2 separate regions of the Homo sapiens genome follow, and region 2 is linked to region 1. The links are contacts of gene promoters, found by promoter capture Hi-C in blood cells and fetal thymus (Javierre and others, 2016). All regions are on one chromosome and are shown on one strand. Each heading gives the region's core, a stretch centred on a gene start or on the middle of the fragment in contact. The rest is flanking DNA. Distances are from core to core; before and after follow the strand shown. Region 1 holds the start of ZFYVE27 (zinc finger FYVE-type containing 27). Region 2 overlaps GOLGA7B (golgin A7 family member B).

Region 1 (5,754 bases), core at 3,236-5,735:
GAGTGCAGTGGCACGATCTCCGCTCACTGCAACCCCCGCCTCCTGGGTTCAAGCAATTCTTCTGTCTCAGCCTCCTAAGTAGCTGGAATTACAGGCACGCGCCACCACACCCGGCTAATTTTTATATTTATTTATTTATTTATTTTGAGACGGAGTCTAGCTCTGTCGCCCAGGCTGGAGTGCAGTGGCATGATCTCGGCTCACTGCAATCTCCGCCTCCTGGGTTCACACCATTCTCCTGTTTCAGCCTCCCCACTAGCTGGGACTACAGACGCCCACCACCATGCCCGGCTAATTTTTTTGTATTTTTAGTAGAGCCCAGGTTTCACCGTGTTAGCCAGAATGGTCTCGATCTCTTGACCTTATGATCTGCCCACCTTGGCCTCCCAAAGTGCTGGGATTACAGGCGTGAGCCACCGCGCCCGGCCTGATTTTTATATTTTTAGTAGAGACGGGGTTTCACCTTGTTGGCCAGGCTGGTCTCAAACTCTTGACCTCAGGTGATCTGCCCGCCTCAGCCTCTCAAAGTGCTGGGATTACACGTGTGAGCCACTGTGCCTGACCGGTACTTAGGTTATTAAAGAAAAAAATTTATTTTTCTTAAGAAGGGTGGGGACTCCTTAGCTTAAATACTACATTGTTGAACACAAAACTTTCCCCATCCTCTCACTTAGATTAAGTCTGCCTCTTCTCTCTGCTCCTACGGTTACAGTAGAATCCCCTGCTTTATATCATGGCTCAGTCAAGTCAGCGTCTTCTGTTGAACTAAGAGTTCATAGAGGGTAGAATTTCTGTCCAGTTCATTCTTGCTGGTTTCACAGTCATTGTTTTAAGAAATGATTCATGACCAGCCTGGGCAACATAGCAACACCTCATTCTACAAAAAAAAAAAAAAAAAAAAAATTGGCCAGGCACGGTAGCTCACACCTGTAATCCCAGCACTTTGGGAGGCTGAGGCAGGCAGATCACGAGCTCAAGAGATCGAGACCATCCTGGCCAACATGGTGAAACCCCGTCTCTACTAAAAATACAAAAATTAGCTGGGCGTGGTGGTGTGCACCTGTAGTCCCAGCTACTCGGGAGGCTGAGGCAGGAGAATCGCTTGAATCCGGGAGGCGGAGCTTGCAGTGAGCCAAGATCGTGCCACTGCACTCCAGCCTGATGACAGAGTGAGACTCCGTTTCAAAAAAAAATAAAAATAAAAATTAAGTAGCTAGGTGTTAGTGGTGTGCACCTGTAGTCCCAGCTCCTCTGGAGGCTGAGGCAGGAGGATTGTTTGAGCCCAGGAATTAGAGTGAGCTATGATTGCACCATTGCACTGCAGCCTGGGCAGCAGCAGAAGACCCTATCTCAAAAATAAAATAAAATTACATTAAAAAAGGAAAGAAAGATAAGAAAAAGAAAAAAGAAATGGGCATTGTTCTGGGGCTTTTGTTGAAAGAGATGTGAATTCTGTGCTCCAAGAGGAAACTGACACGCATGCGCTCATTCAAGGAACATTTGTTGGTACCTCCTTTGTGCTAGATGCTGGACACAGAAATTATAGGCAGTTCCCTCAGGACTCTCACTGTCTAGAGAGAGGAGGAGGCACCAAGTGCTGGGGTGGGGCAGGCCCACGGAGCCAAGTCAGAAGGGCACGTAATCCAGACAGTGGCTGCTGATGGGGAAGGTGTCAGAGAAGTCTTTCTTCAGGGGTGAGATCTGAGCTGAATTTTGGAGGAAGAATAAGAGCTGGCCAACTAAAGAATATGGGGCGCAGTGGCTCACGTCTGTAATCCCAGCGCTTTGGGAGGTCGAGGCAGGTGGATCACCTGAGGTAAGGAGTTTGAGACCAGTCTAGCCAACATGGTGAAACCCCATCTCTACTAAATACAAAAAATTAGCCAGGCATGGTGGTGCATGCCTGTAATTCCAGCTACTTAGGAGGCTGAGGCGGAAGAATCGCTTGAACCTGGGAGGCAAAAGTTGCAGTGAGCCAAGATTTCTCCATTGCACTCCAGCCTGCGCAACAAGAGCAAAACTCTATCTCAAAAAAAAAAAAAAAAAAAAGGTGAGAGTAGTCTGTAGAAAGGTACAGTAATGGGAGAAGGTGTGACATATCCGAGAACTGCCAGAGTTGAATACACCAGGCTTTGGTTTTATCCTGGAGGTCACAGGGGGCCACTGAAACTATCCACCAAGAGAGTGGTCTGAGAAAGGTACAGAGGGGTGGACAGGGTGGGGGATGGGAGTGGGTGGGGAGTGGCGATGGCCTATCCTGGAATTCAGACCTGAGGCCAGGTTAGGAAACGAAGAAGAGGGGCCTTCAGAGGCTATCTGCATGACAGACCCAGGAGCTTTCGGGGAAAAGACCCATCCTAAGGGAGGAGAGGCAGAGTCCAGCAGATGGGCCTGGACCACCACAAAGCTCAGTCCATTTCTCTAAGGGGTGGTGAGTGGATTTCTGTATATGGCTTAGTGATATGTGTGGGAATTGGATCTTTCTACATTTTGGCCTTTCGTGGATTCTTGTCTGATTTTTGGGCTAGGGGTGGTGGTGGTAGGGCTTTGAGTAAAAATAAAAATCACAATGATTGCTAACGATTTTTGAACACTTATAACATGTCAGGAATTTACATACTTTAGCTCATTTAATTCTCATCACAGCCCCACACTGAGGGTACCACTATGGTTATCCCCATTTTACAGCTGGAAAAACCAACCAAGCAATTCATCTGAGGAGAAGCCCTCCTACCTTACTTATGTTGGGACTGGCGCATGCCGGGTAATTGACAAAGTCAACTAAAGCAGGGAGCTTTGAGAAAAATACCTACACAGGGTAAGCATTTACTTTTGGGACAATCGTCAATTTATACATAGTTATAAGAACTAACACAGGGTGATCCCACAGACTACCCCCCAATGGTAACATCTTGCAACCCTTCTTAACAGAATGCCTACTATGTGCCAGGTACTGCTTTAGGTGCTGGAGACATAGACACGGGAAACGAAACATTAGCTGACAGAAGCCACAAGAGTGAATGAGATCCTCACGGAGTGCCTTGAGTCAGAAGAAAGAAGGGTAGCAAAAGGAGCCCCAGCATTTGAGGGGTAGGAAGAAAAGCCCTAAGGAGACCTTGAAGGTCGGAAAGAGAGGAGAGGGTGGTGTCATGGAAGCTAAGGTGGACAATGGTGCCAAAAAGGAAAGAGATTCCAGTGCTTCTGAGGTCATCTGCAAGGAGGACTGGGAAGTGTCCATTGGATTTAGCAGCCAGGATGTCACAGGTGAGCAGGCAGGTAGCCCAGAAATATGGAGGGGAGCAGGACCACAGTGCAGTGAGGAGTGAATTGGGCGAGGAAGCAGCGGTAGAGAGCACTTCACAGTGAGTCTTCCAACTCATGTAGGAAAGAGGGGGTAAAGTTAGGCTAAAGGAGAAATTTTCCATGAATTTTGTCTCTAGAATGATGATTAAGAGTTAGCGAGAGTCAAGATTTCAGGCCTGTTAGAGCAAAGCCCTAAGGAAATAAGAGTTGGACCCTGGAGCACAGCTAAGTCCTGGCTGGAGGGATGGGCCTGTCTTTCTGAAAGGAGATAATGGAGGAAGAGATGCAGTTAAAGCTCTGTGGCTACTTGAAGAGGGAAGTGATTACTTCCAGCTGGGGCACTCAAGGAAGGGATACAGACATTTGAGTGCCAGGGGCATTTGAGGGTAACAGTGGAGGGGTTCAGTTGGCCAAAGTTAAAGGCAGCTGAAAGATGGCAGGAGACAAGACCAGGAAATGCAGACCAAGGTGGGTGGTGGTATGGTTGGGGCGTTGGGGTCAGATGACACATAAGCTTCAAATTCCAGCTCCCATTTGCTTCTTAGCTGTGACTCTAAAGAAGTTCCTTAACACGTCTGAGATTCCCCATCTGTAAAATGGCGACAACCCTAATAGGGTCGTTGGAGGAGAACTAGATAATGTCTAAAAAGAGCTCAGTCCGGTTCAGTGCTTGGCTCCTCTGTACCTGAGCGCTAAGTCACTAATATAAAGCCATCGGATGTGTGCTTTAAGGGAAATTAACTGGGCCACACGGTGTGAAGTGAACTGAGCTGGGAGAGGCCTGCACAGGACCTTGTACACACTAGCTACTCCGGAAACAACTGCATGCTCTGCTGGGCATCTCATACAGGATACGGTGTCTTTCCGGGGCTCACACACAGTCCCCAGTTCAGTTCCAAAGTTGGAAGGAAAGAGGATGAAGACGTAAATTCTTCATTTAAGCCTCTCGCCAACTGTTCCCTGCGGCAAGGCAGGGCAACGAGCTGCAGGGTCGCCAAGCACGTGCTTCCAAGGGTCCTCAAGGCTTTGTGAACGGCGGCCGGCCAAGGACAGAATTAACTCCAGCCTGGAGCGCGCGGGAAAGACGCGCAGGCGCACTGCTGGCAAGGGTGCTTGCCTGTGCTGGGGTGGGCGGAGCTAAACCCGGAGCGGGATGACGTCATGAGGACGCAGCCGCAGAGCGATTCGCGTCCCGGAAGCGGCGGTGGCGGCCGCGGCGTAGGCGGAGGAGATTTTCGGACCTGCGACTTCCGAACAACCCTGGCAGGAGGAGCGGCGTTCAGCCGGGGGAGGCCTGAAGAAACGCTCCGGGGCCCAGTGGCTCTACCCCTGCTCCTGCCCGACCCTGCCGCCTCCCTCACGGAGCCAGCGGCCGGGTAGGTGAGGTGCCGTCCCCCCGCGTCCCAGTGTCTCCGCAGGCTGTGTGTAGTTGGGTGCTTGGGCGCAGCGGGGGCCGCCACATGCTGGCCCCACGACCTCGGGCATGGCCTTCCCTGTCCAGCCTCACGGGCTCCATCAGGCCCCCCTGGCTGCAGAGGTGTTGGCCAAGGCCAGTGCGGGCGTCGATATACCTCGCCCCTTCCTGGGCTCATACCTGGCGCCGCTCTGTGCCCTTTCGCCTTGGCTCGGCCTGCGGGGATTTCGGGGTCCCGTTGGCCCCTTTGTCCCATCCCCTCACCCTCCCATCAGGTCGCGGCTGATTGCCTGGGACTGGTTTATGTTGCTCTTCGCCGAGGTTCCGCCCCCTCGTTTGCTGCTTAGAGTTCAGGATAGGACTTTGAACTGGGAAAGACCGTAAAGGCTCCTCGGTTTCCTCATCAGAAAGGGCAGACGGGAATGGGGCGTTCTGATGCCGACTGCCCTGGGGCAGAGATGGCCCAGGAAGTTGTTGGGAACCGAAGGGAGTGGGAAGAGTTAGAGGATCGGGCGAGAGTCCTGGAGCACGGTATTTCATTCACTCATTCAGCAGGCATTTGTTAAGCACCCACTGTGTACAGAAGCAGTCGTGAATGGAGGCCAGTTAAGAGCAGGGAGTTTTACTTTGACGTGGTCAGTGCTCTGCACTTGATCTTAGCCACAAGGCCAAGAAGCGATGTGATGTGATAAGTGCTCTGTTAGGGTGAGTACGTGATCCTTTGGGAGCATCGGAGAGGGTCTCCCAGTCCAGAGTTGGGGGTGTTGGCAGAGACTTCCCAGAGTAAGGGAGTGATGTTTAAGCTGATACCTGAAGGATGAGTAGGAATTAACCAGGTAAAGAGTGGGAGAAAAATGTTCCAGGACATCATTTCATTTCAGCCCATGGGCTGCCTCGCTGCAGCGATCATTTATGCTTGGTTTTTATGATTTTTAGTTTTGATGGATCTTTGGGGAAAAGAGCATTGGATGGAGAGTACAAAGAACAGGATTTTAGGTCTGAATAGTTCACTTTCCCTTGCTCACAGGTTTACTGTT
Region 2 (5,329 bases), core at 65-2,564, 120 kb after region 1:
CCCTGCTACTGGTAACCCCTGGACTTCCTTTATGACTCAACACAGGCTTCAGGAGGCCTTTTCTGAGTGAGCATTTCTGGGTAAGATGTTACTTCTCTGTGGCATTTGTCACTGTCTAATTCATTATATATTTACTTGTCTTCCTCCCTGGAGCTCACAGACTCTTTTGCTCAGCACCCCCAGAGCTTGGCACTAGGAGAGACTCAATAAATGAGAGCTGAGTGACTGAATGGATCCAGCTTAATTACATGGGATGAACTGGCTGTTGTTCACTCTGCCTTTGGGGCTTGGTCTCCACGTGTTCTCAGTGTTGGGCATATTTCAACCAGTGGGATGCTTGTCTTGAATGTGGGTGACTGAGGCTGGAGAGGTGGAAAAAGTGGGCTTGTTCTGTGGAATTGAGCCCATTCCCCTCAAACACTAGAGTCTGTGTCAATGTGAAGTCCACAGATGTGCACAAGGGACAGATATCTCCCCTCTCCTTCCTGCCAGGGAAGGCTATTTCTTCCATTTCTGGCCTCTGTCCATTTCATCTACACTATTCTCTGGAGAAGTTTGGACATTCATGGGCCCTTTGTTTCCTGTGGTGAGAAGTGCTGGATGTGAAAAGCATCTGGGGTGCTCTCTGGCCGGGGCCATAAAACTCGGCCTGGACCCCAGTCTCTGAGTTCAGGGGTACCTCAGGTATTCCTCTGTCCCACATGTTCCCTGCCTGCAACTCTGTTGTGAGCTCCACTTGGCAGGACTGGAGCACTGGTCTTGTTCAGTGCTGGGTTCCCCAGGCACAGGGTCTCACAAGTGAACGCTTGGTACTTGGTGAATGAATGAAAGTATGAAAGGTTCTTCTGTGTGTGTGTGTGTGTGCACGTGCACGTGCGAGAGAGACTCAACTTTGGCCCTGCTTTAGGCTTGTTAAAAATTTTTTTAGAGTTGGGGTCTTGCTCTGTCACCCAGGCTGGAGTGCAGTGGTGCAATCACAACTTACTGCAGCCTTTAACTCCTGGACTCCAGCAATGCTCCCACCTCAGCCTCCCAAAGTGCTGGGATTACAGGCACAAGCCACTGCACCCAGCCTTGCTTTAGGCTTTTAAAAGATCTCTCTGGGATAGCTCAGGGCAGCTTCTTGGGTAGACCCCACAGCCCTGCCTCCCTTGGCCTCTTGGAGCACCTGTAGAGTGCCCAGCTTGTCTCTGCATGCTGGGAACTTTCCTGGTGTTAGTGCTGGAAGACCTGCATTCTGGGAAACCCCTGCATTTGGGATATGCCGAGATGGATGGTCACTCTCAGCACATGCCGCCCGCACGTCTCCTCAGGTCCACAATCTGCAGGAGCTCCGGCGAAGTGCCTCACTGGCCACCAAGGTCTTTATCCAGAGAGACTACAGCGATGGGACCATCTGTCAGTTCCAGACCAAATTCCCCCCAGAGCTGGACAGCCGGGTAAGGATGCCTTTTTCTGCACTTGGAACCCAGGGCTGTGATGGAACTGAGGTTCTTATTGGAATGTATTTTATCCAGGATCCTATGACACATAATATCATAGGACACGTAACATGTTTGGCCACTTCAAAAGGATGAATTTTAAAAAATCAAAAGGATGATTCTTAATATTGTCTTACTGTCTCCTCATAGAAAATTAGAGCTGAAGGGATCTCAGGGATTTTCTGGTCTGGCTGCTCTCAAGTTTCAGTTGCCTAAAAATGATATAGAGAGCTTGTTAAACAAATGGAAATTCCTGAGTCCTACTGGATGATACAGGTGTTGTCCAGCAGTGCTGATCCAGTTGTTGGACTGTGGCTCAGGAGTCTCCATTTATTAGCAGCTGTTCTCAACCTTGGCTGTACATTAGAGGTTCCTGGGGAGCTTAAAAAATCCTGATGCTCAGACTGCAGCCCAAACCAACTACATTAGACTCTCTAGGGGTGGGACTCTGGAATCAGCATAGTTTTAAATCTTAATTTTGAAATGAATTTTAATCATGATTGTTTAAACTTTAGTATTTATTTATTTATAATTTTGTGGGTACCTAGCAGGGGTACATGAGATATTTTGATACAAGCATGCCATGTGTAATAATCACATCAGGGTAAATGGGGCATCCATTACTTCGGACATTTATCTTATCTGTTACAAACAATCCAGTTATACTCTTTTAGTTATTTTAAAATGTACAATTAAATTATTATTGACTATAGTCACCCTGTTGTGCTATCAAATACTAGGTCTTTTTTTTTTTCCCTTGATGGAAATCCAGGATGGAGTGCAGTGGTGTGACCACAGCTCCCTGCAGCCTCTGTCTCCCAGCTAAGGTGATCTTCCTGCCTCGGCCTCCCAGGTAGCTGGGGTTACAGGTTCGTGCCACTACTCCTGGCTAATTTATTGTAATTTTAGTAGAGACGGGGTTTTGCCATGTTGCCCAGGCTGGTCTCAAACTCCTGGGCTCAAGTGATCCGCCCTCCTCGGCCTCCCAAAGTGCTGGGATTACAGGTGTGAGCCACCATGCCCAGCCCAAATACTAGGTCTTAAGCCTTAATTTTTAATGAGGAATTCCCAGGTGAATCAGAATCAAGTGGTTCATAGATTACACTTGGAATTGCTAGTCTTGTTCAGCTGGTCTTCTTCAGAAACAGCGCTGCTTCTCATCCTTGGCTACACCTTAGAGGCACCTGGGAACTTTGAAAAAGGAAGCTTGCAGGGCGTCAGCTTGGGTAGGGCAGGGCAGTGGTGATCTTTGCTGCTCTGACCTATCCTCCCCCTTCCCAGACCATTGACTCAGAATCTCCTGGTGGGGGAGACTTGGGCATCATAGGGTTTAAAGGCTGCTCAGATAATTTCAGTTTGCAGCTGGAGCTGAGAACCATTAAGTCCTTGTTACTAAAACTGTGGCCTGTGGATCAACAATATCAACAATACCTGGGAGCTTGATAGAAATGCAGAATCTCAGCTCCCTCCCTGGATCTGCTGAATCCGAATCTGGGTTTTAATCTATTCCTTGGGTTATTCAGATATGCATGAAATTTTGAGAAGCTCCACACTAGTCCATCCCTCTCATTTAACAGAGGAAACTGAGGGCCAGAAAGAAGTGACTTATGGGAGTTAGTAAGTACCAGACAGGCTTAAGTGCCCCGCCTCTCTGCTTTTTCACAGGACTCTTATTTTCTTGCTGACACAATTGCATCTTTTGTGGGTACAGATCAAACTAAATGTCTTCATGATCACAGTCTCGCAGGGAAAGCTTAGAGACTCAAAGGAAGAGCTGCAGGCTGCTTTTCCCTTCTCCTTGCCTCAGGCAAAGGGGAGAGCCAGATGCACCATCCCACAGTCTGCTGGGTGGCATAAAAGGCAGTCAGCCAAGGGCTCTGCCTACAGCCTCTGCCTCTAGACTCAGCTAGTTGGGTGACTCATGGACCTCAGGCTGCTGTGAGGCATCAGCTGCTGAGTTTTGCTTCTGGTCCAGGGGTGTCCTCAGCTTTCATCCTAGGCTGCCCTAGAGTGGGCCTGGGACTGGGGAAGCCAGAAGGCAGATCCTGAGCTTTCACTCAGCAGCCCAGGTAGATCTGAATGGGTTTGGGAAGTGGGGGCAGGGATGGTCTGTACTGATATGACCCGGAGCCAGCTTTCGGAGAGAATGTGGGCCTCTTTCTCATCTTAGCATGCTTGTCCTTTAGGGCGGGGTGACCCCCAGGGTGGAGCAGCAGGGCTTGTGGCATGGACTAGATGGGCAGGATTTTCATAGGATTTTCTCTATGAGTTCTCCCCAGGTCTGTGTAGGGGGAACTCCTAAGCTTCCAACTATTCTTGGACAGAGGTTTTGTCCTAGAGAGGCAGGGAGGTCCCTAAACTGTGTGATGAGCATTTCTGGTCCTGCTGCATGAGTGAGGAAGAAGGTACTGTGAAGAATGTGAAAAATAGGGCTACTATTTTGACACTGTGACACCTGCTGAGTTTGGAATGTGACCTTCCCGGCTGTCTGGTGTTACACAGTGAAGAGCACAGACTGGAGTCAGAGCTGTAACCTTGGACAAGTTTACTTAGCAGTCACTAAGTATTTATTGATTATGTATTAGTCTCTAGAGATATAGGAGTAAACTCATGGCATTTATTTTCTATTAGATGGTGTAGAAAATAAAAAACCAAGCAAATACAGTTGACCCTTGCACAACACAGGGTTAGGGGTGCCTGTCCCCTGCACAGTCAAAAATCTGGATATAACCTTTGACTTTCTAAAAACTTAACTACTAGTAGCCTACTGTTGACTGGGAGTCTTCTGTTAATACAAACAGTTTATTAACACACATTTTGCATGTTATGTATATTATATACTGTATTCTTATAATAAAGTAAGCTAGAGAAAAGAAAATGTTAAGAAAATCATAAGGAGAAGAAAATATATTTACTACTCATTAAGTGGAAGTGGATCATCATAAAGGTCTTCATCCTCGTCATCTTCATGTTGGGTAGGCTGAGGAAGAGGAGGAACAGGACAGGTGGATCTTGCTGTCTCAGGGGTGGCAGAGTCAGAAGAAAATTCACATATACATGGACCCACACAGTTCAGACCCATGTTGTTCCAGGGTCAACTGTAAATATACCTCACTCAGGAGGTAACAAATACTAGAAGAATAAGGGGAGGATGTCACGGGGGTTGGGTGTGCTGGGGAGAGGTGAATGATCCTGGGCACAGGGGGAGGCTGTTGAATAAGGTGAGACCCAAGGGTGTTAAGGGTGTCACGGCAGCCTGCAGGGGAAAGTGTGGCAGCTAAGGAGATGGACACAAAGGGCCTGAGGAAATTTCAAGAAGCAGGGGTACTGAGTGAAGAGGAGAGGAGGAGACGGGCCCAGGGGTAGCAGGGTCGGGCCATGGAGGGCCTAGCGGGCATTGTAAGGACTTCTTGGATTTAACTTGCAGAGAGATGGGAAGATTGTGGGAGCTCTTGATCACAGCTGTGACATAATCTGACTTTAACTGGAAGTTAGGGCAGGAGCAGGGGCAGGGAGGCCAGTGAAGGGGCCAGAGACGGTGGCAGCTGGAACCACAGAGCAGTTCGTGGTCCGCGTGGTCTTAGGACCACAGAGCAGTCCTCACCTGTAAAATGGGGATGGCAGTAGTACTTTTCTGATAGAATTGTTCTGAGAGTTAAATGAAAGAGTGCATTTCCTGGCACACAGAAAGTGCTTAATACATATTAGCCATTCCTATTATGGATACGGGCAGGACAGCTTCTCAGGTGTCCAAACACACAGGGTGGTGGTGTTGTGGGTGACCTCTGAGCTAGAAGGAAATGCCCCTTCCTGGAGAGATGCCCCTGAGGTCTCACTGAAGCAGTCTC

The links. The method cuts DNA at HindIII sites, captures the fragments that hold promoters and counts their contacts. A CHiCAGO score of 5 or more calls a contact.
Region 2: a contact is called between a fragment that was not itself captured here and the fragment with the promoter of ZFYVE27 in region 1, in 7 of 17 cell types (M2 macrophages, naive CD4 T cells, non-activated CD4 T cells and 4 more). The highest score is 8.3, in M2 macrophages.

What each region holds. Positions count from the first base shown.
Region 1 is chr10:97,732,643-97,738,396 of GRCh38, forward strand. ZFYVE27 (zinc finger FYVE-type containing 27) reads left to right here and starts at 4,486. Exons shown (of 13, transcript NM_001385875.1): 1 at 4,486-4,679. RefSeq lists an enhancer at 4,202-4,351 and a silencer at 4,682-4,751. The HindIII fragment of the contact is 3,622 bases long and covers 3,816-5,754 here.
Region 2 is chr10:97,858,145-97,863,473 of GRCh38, forward strand. GOLGA7B (golgin A7 family member B) reads left to right here. Exons shown (of 5, transcript NM_001010917.3): 2 at 1,314-1,439. Among named protein-coding and RNA genes, the nearest start is that of GOLGA7B, 11 kb to the left of the region's middle. The HindIII fragment of the contact is 2,741 bases long and covers 1-2,685 here.